Linked DNA regions of Homo sapiens: region 1 is linked to region 2. The links are contacts of gene promoters, found by promoter capture Hi-C in blood cells and fetal thymus (Javierre and others, 2016). All regions are on one chromosome and are shown on one strand. The core of a region is centred on a gene start or on the middle of the fragment in contact, and the rest is flanking DNA. Distances in the headings are between cores, read along the strand shown. Region 1 overlaps DNAJC3-DT (DNAJC3 divergent transcript). Region 2 holds the start of TGDS (TDP-glucose 4,6-dehydratase).

The links. Contacts are between HindIII fragments. The CHiCAGO score rates a contact against its expected background, and 5 or more counts as called.
Region 1: a contact is called between a fragment that was not itself captured here and the fragment with the promoter of TGDS in region 2, in 1 of 17 cell types (total CD4 T cells). The highest score is 6.0, in total CD4 T cells.

Annotation. Positions count from the first base shown.
Region 1 is chr13:95,672,591-95,675,321 of GRCh38, forward strand. DNAJC3-DT (DNAJC3 divergent transcript) reads right to left here. Exons shown (of 2, transcript NR_132117.1): 2 at 245-2,078. Among named protein-coding and RNA genes, the nearest start is that of DNAJC3-DT, 3.0 kb to the right of the region's middle. The HindIII fragment of the contact is 2,769 bases long and covers 1-2,696 here.
Region 2 is chr13:94,594,721-94,597,420 of GRCh38, forward strand. TGDS (TDP-glucose 4,6-dehydratase) reads right to left here and starts at 1,432. Exons shown (of 12, transcript NM_014305.4): 1 at 1,331-1,432. The coding sequence starts at 1,416. RefSeq lists an enhancer at 1,296-1,605. The HindIII fragment of the contact is 5,991 bases long and covers 1-2,700 here.

The DNA.
Region 1 (2,731 bases), core at 62-2,561, 1.1 Mb after region 2:
AGAAGATATATAGCTGCCTTTAAATTAGTATTAACACATTCCAGTGATCAAAGATTCATCTATTTATCGGAAACAGTACATGAATCTTTTAAAATACAATTTTTACACTTTGTAGTCCAGAATTGTAATGTTAAAGACTCTTTAAATCACACTTCAAAACTTTTAGCTCATAATTATAATAACACAACCTATTATTTAAATGCACTCACTCACATTTTAAAAATAAAAAATACAGTGAACAGCATTTTTCTTTTAGATATTTTACTAGATTGTTTGGACTAGAATATAACTAGAATGTGTATGTAGCAATAGACATTTTAAAAACTCAAATAACCTACAATTTTCAAACTGAGAGAAAAAGAAGAACATCAAAAAGAGGAGAAAAGAGCTGGCTTAGGCAACTGTTATCTCTGTAAAGGGCTAATTCTCTTTCTTCTGCAAGGAAAGGAGATAAAATTCGATGCAGAAAAACTCATCTGTACACAAATACACAAAAGAGAGTCACTGCAGTTGATTTAAAAATACTCAGGCCCTTCACAATATTTTAAATAAACTTCTATTGCTGAAACAACTTTCAAGTAAGGGCATAAGGATAATACAGGGAGGTCCCAAATACCCCTTATTTTTCTGTATTGTTAGCATCTTGCATAACCATGGTACATTTGTCAAAACTAAGAAAGTAATAATGGTACACTACTATTAAACTTGAGACTATTCATATTTCAGTAGTTTTTCCACTAATGTCTATTTTCTCTAGGATCCAGTTCAACACAGCACACTGCATTCAGTCATCAATTAAGTTTCCTTAGTTTCCTCTGGTCTGTTACAGTATTTCAATCTTTCCTTGTTCCCCACGACGTTGATAGTTTTGAGGAATACTGATCAGGTGTTTTATAGAATGTCCTTCAATTTTAGTTTGATTTTTTTTTTTTCATGTTTAGACTAGATTGGGTTATAGGTTTTGAGAATACCACAGAGGTGAATTGCCCTTCTCATCACAGTATATTGGGAGTATATGCTATCAACATGACTTGATGATATTAACTTTGACCACCTGGCCAAGACAGTGTTTCCAGGTTTCTGTACTATGAAGTTACTCTCCTCCTCCCTTTCCATACTCTGTTCTTTGGAAGTTAGTCACTAAGTCCAGCCCACACTCAAGGAAGGAGGGAAAATAAGCTCCACCTGATGAAGGGGGACGTATTGTGTTAAGCTGAATAACGGTCCCCCAAATATGTTTACATTCTAATCTCCTGTCATTGTTCTATAGCAAAAGGCAGTTTTTGCAGATGTGATTAAATTGAGGAACTTGAGTAGGAAGAATATCCTGGATTATCTCAGCAGGCCCAATATAATTAATTACAAGGATCCTTGTAAGACGGAGGCAAGGTCAAAAATGACAGAAGGTGATGTGAATACAAAAGCGGAGATTATAGTCATGCGGCCAGAAGCCAAAAAACAACATAAAAGAGGGTGGAAAGCAGAGAAGACAAGATGTGATATAAAAGCCAAATTTTATATGAAGGTACCAAAATTTGATCAGAATCCCAAAATCCTTGAAAATAAACTGTAAATTTGACATATAAGGGTCATTTTTTGTTCCTCAGATTGGCAAAAACTGAAAATCAATTATATCTAGTGATGGTGACTAGGCAGGAATATAAACAGCTGATAGGAATAGAAATTATTCCTTTAGGGAAAGATAATCTGACAACGCATCTTAAAAGTTTAAACAAATTCTTTGATTAAGCAAGTTCAAAAACCTAGTTTTTTTTTTTTTTTTTTTTATAAAGTGTCACTCTGTTGCTCAGTCTGGAGTGCAGTGACATGATCTTAGCTCACTGCAACCTCAAACTCCTGGGTTGAAGCAATCCTCTGCCTCAGTCTCCCTGAGTAGCTAGGGCAACAGGCACGAGCCACCGCACCTGGCTAGTTTTAAATTTTTTTGCAGAGACAGGATCCTGCTATGTTGCTCAGGCTGGTCGCAAACTCCCGGCCTCAAATAATCCTCCCATCTTGGCTTCCCAAAGCGCTAGCATTACAGGTGTGAGCCACTGCGCCCAGCCTAGAAATGTTTCCTAGAAATAAAAGCACAAGTTTGTAAACATAAATGTGGAAGGATGTATATGGTGGCATTAACTTAATGCTGACTTTTTTGTTCTTAATTTGGCACAAAAAGGTGTTTATAAGTGCTCTACTTGTTTCTGAACATTTATTTCTCCTCATAGTTAATTCCTAAACAAATCTTATTCCCTTTACCTACAAAATATGTTCTAGATCTGTTCACTCCTCTCTACCAACATTGTTTTTCCTAGTCAATAAACATAGATCAACCTAATAAAAATTGCATAATACTCTTAATTTTGGATATATCATAAATATGCTACCATTGTTTTTTAAGTCTTTTGCTACTATAATTAACAGTATGAATTACAGTGGAGATTTAATGTTTAACTTCAAAAAGACTCCATAGAGTCTGACGAATGCAAACATATTTACAGTAACTTTTCTTACACTCACTAGATTACTTTGATTTTCGGTTTTATTGGCAAGAGTGATTCGTGAAAACCATGACTAGATGAACATTGGAGGAAACATTCCCAAGCATTAATCACTTAATTTTAGTTTTGTACATTTTTTTCTGTCTAATGTTACCTTTGTTGTAAAATTATCTTTTTTTAAGGAATGCTTTGTAAAGCTTAGTTCTAATATTACAGAATTCATAGTTATG
Region 2 (2,700 bases), core at 182-2,681:
CTCATTAAGTGAAACTTGCCAGCCTGATGCTCTCCCCCAAATGACTTGTCGGATTAGAAGGGGTGATTTAATGTGCAAATGGCCATAAACAGGAATCCTCACATTCCCACTTCTTCCACTAGCCACTGAGTTCCTTGAGGGGAGGATAGGAGAGTTTCCTGTTTATTACTCTTGCATTCATCCATTCCACAATTACTAAAGACTTATATAGAATGGGCCAGGCATTCTTCCAGGTGCTGAATGAACAGTAGTCTCTGTCCTTACCGAGTTTGCATTTTAGAGTGGGGATACAAGCAATAAACAAGCAGACACAAATCCGCAATATAATTTCAGGTAGAGGTTAAGTGTGCTAGTTGGGAGAGGGGCTATTTTAGATATGGTGGTCAGGTAAGAACTCTCTGAGGTGCTATCTGAATAAAAACCAGAATTGAGTGGTGCAAACAGCCTAAGGAAAGGGGAAGCAAGTGCAAAGGCCTCAAGACAGAAGTGTGTATCTTGGTGTGTTCCAAGAACTAAGAGGGGAAGCATGGCAGGTACAGAAAAGCAGATCAGGTTGCAAAAGTAGGGCTTGGGCACTTGAGTTTTCTAGATATGGTAGAGTTTGGGCTTTATTCTTAAGTGTGGCAGGAACCACTGAAGTAAAATCCTGCTTCTACCATGATCTGATTGACTTAAGAAACACTGACTTGTATGTGAGCAACAGGCTTTAAAGGAACATGAGTGGACGCAGTTATGGCCAACCAAGAGGCTACAGCAGCAGTCGAGGCAAAAGATGACAGTAAACATGGGCTAGGGTGGAAACGGGAAACTGGTGAGAAGTGGTCGCCGTAAGGATATACTTTGGAAGTAGAGAGGACTTGCTGCTCGAATGTGGGTCTGAGGAAGAAAAGGGTGTCAACAGTGGATTTGTAAAAGTTTGCTGATTACATAGATGTCCTATTATAGTCCTTAAATCGTTTTGGGGGTGCCTATATGTACAGGGCCCATCGTGGGGTGTGGGTGCTCTAGGCTGGAGGTGGGAAGCAGTCGGTGAGCAGCTTAGGGTAACTTGCACGCACTCAAGGAGTGACATGGTGAGCACCTCCGGCCACAGAAGGGCGGAGAGTAACGCAGCTTTGGAAGAGGCGTTTTAAAGAAGTCAGTTTCAAAGGAACCACTTCTTTGCAGGCCAGAGAGAGAAAAGCTGGTCCAGGTCGTGCATTAGGACCCTCCCCATATCAGAATAAGGACCCCTCAAAGCTGGACCCAAATTACCTAGGGCAAGCAGAGCTGCGGGAAAAGGTAGGGGTTTCTGGGGAGCCACTGCTTGGCTAGCGGCGCCATTACCTACATGAAACCAGCACCGCCGGTCACCAGGACCCGCTTCGCAAAGCCGCCGGGAAGACCCCACGGTTCCTCCCAACACGCCGCCGACATCTCCCAGCTCAGCAGTGCCTAGTACCGTAAAGAGTATGGTCTGAAAAGCGCAGGGAAGTTCCGCCGCGACCTTTTGCGACGCGCCTCGCTCGCGGGACACGTTAACAGAGCAGCCAGAGGCAGCTTCCGGAGACTGCTCTGTGGCCAGTTTCTGCCCGCCCACTAGCGGGCTGGGCGGGGCCGCGCTCACCACGCGCAGGCGCTGCTCCTTTCCGCCCTTGCCTGGTCCGCCAGGTGCAATTGGGGTCGCCCGGATGGTAGGGGTATGGAACGTTTTTCCCGGAAATGCCACCACTATGGATCAGATTTATGAATGAGTACCTTTTTTCATTCTTGTACTACAGCCATCTCTAGAGGTTACCTATCAGTTGAGCTGAGAACGGGGAGTTGTTGCAGATGGAGATGGGAGGTTGCAATTTAAAAATGATTTTTTTTTTTAGTGGGGCGGGGACAGGGTCTCCCTCTGTTACCCAGGCTGGAGTGCAGTGGTGCGATCACGGCTCACTGCAGCGTCGACCAATGGGGCTCAAGCAATCCTCCCACCTCAGCCTCCTGAGTAGCTAGGAATACAGTCGTGCGCCACCACGCCCGCCTAATTTTTGGTAGAGATGGGTTTCGCCCTGTTGTCCAGGCTGGTCTCGAACTCCTGGGATCTAGCCAACCTCCCGCCTCAGCCTCCCAAGGTCCTGGGATTACAGGCGTGAGCACCGTGCCTGGCCTGCAAAATGATCTTTTGCTGTTGTTAATATTATTTCAGGCCGGGCGCCGTGGCTTACGCCTGTAATCCCAGGACTTTGGGAGGCCGAGGTGGGCGGATCACCTGAGGTCAGGATTCGAGACCAGCTTGGCCAACATGGTGAAACCCTGTCTCTACTAAAAATACAAAAATTAGCCGGGCGTGGTGGCGGGCGCCTGTAATCCCAGCTACTTGGGAGGCCGAGGCAGGAGAATTGCTTGAACCCGGAAGGCAGAGGTTGCAGTGAGCCGAGACCGCACCATCGCACTCCAGCCTGGGCAACAACAGCAAAACTCCGTCTCAAAAAATAATAATATTATTATTACAGACAGCGCAGAAGGCTTGCAATCATGATAAAGATATTCCCTAGGTCCTACGCTGATGTCTTATTCTATTCTCTCCTTTGCTCACTCCGCCCCAGCCTCCCCACCCTCCTTGCTCTTCATTCAATGTGCCAGGCATGCTACTTCCCCGGGACCTTGATTGTCTTTCCCCAGATGTCTGCCTAGTTTTTACCCTTACTTCCGTTTTCAGCTTGAATGGCATCC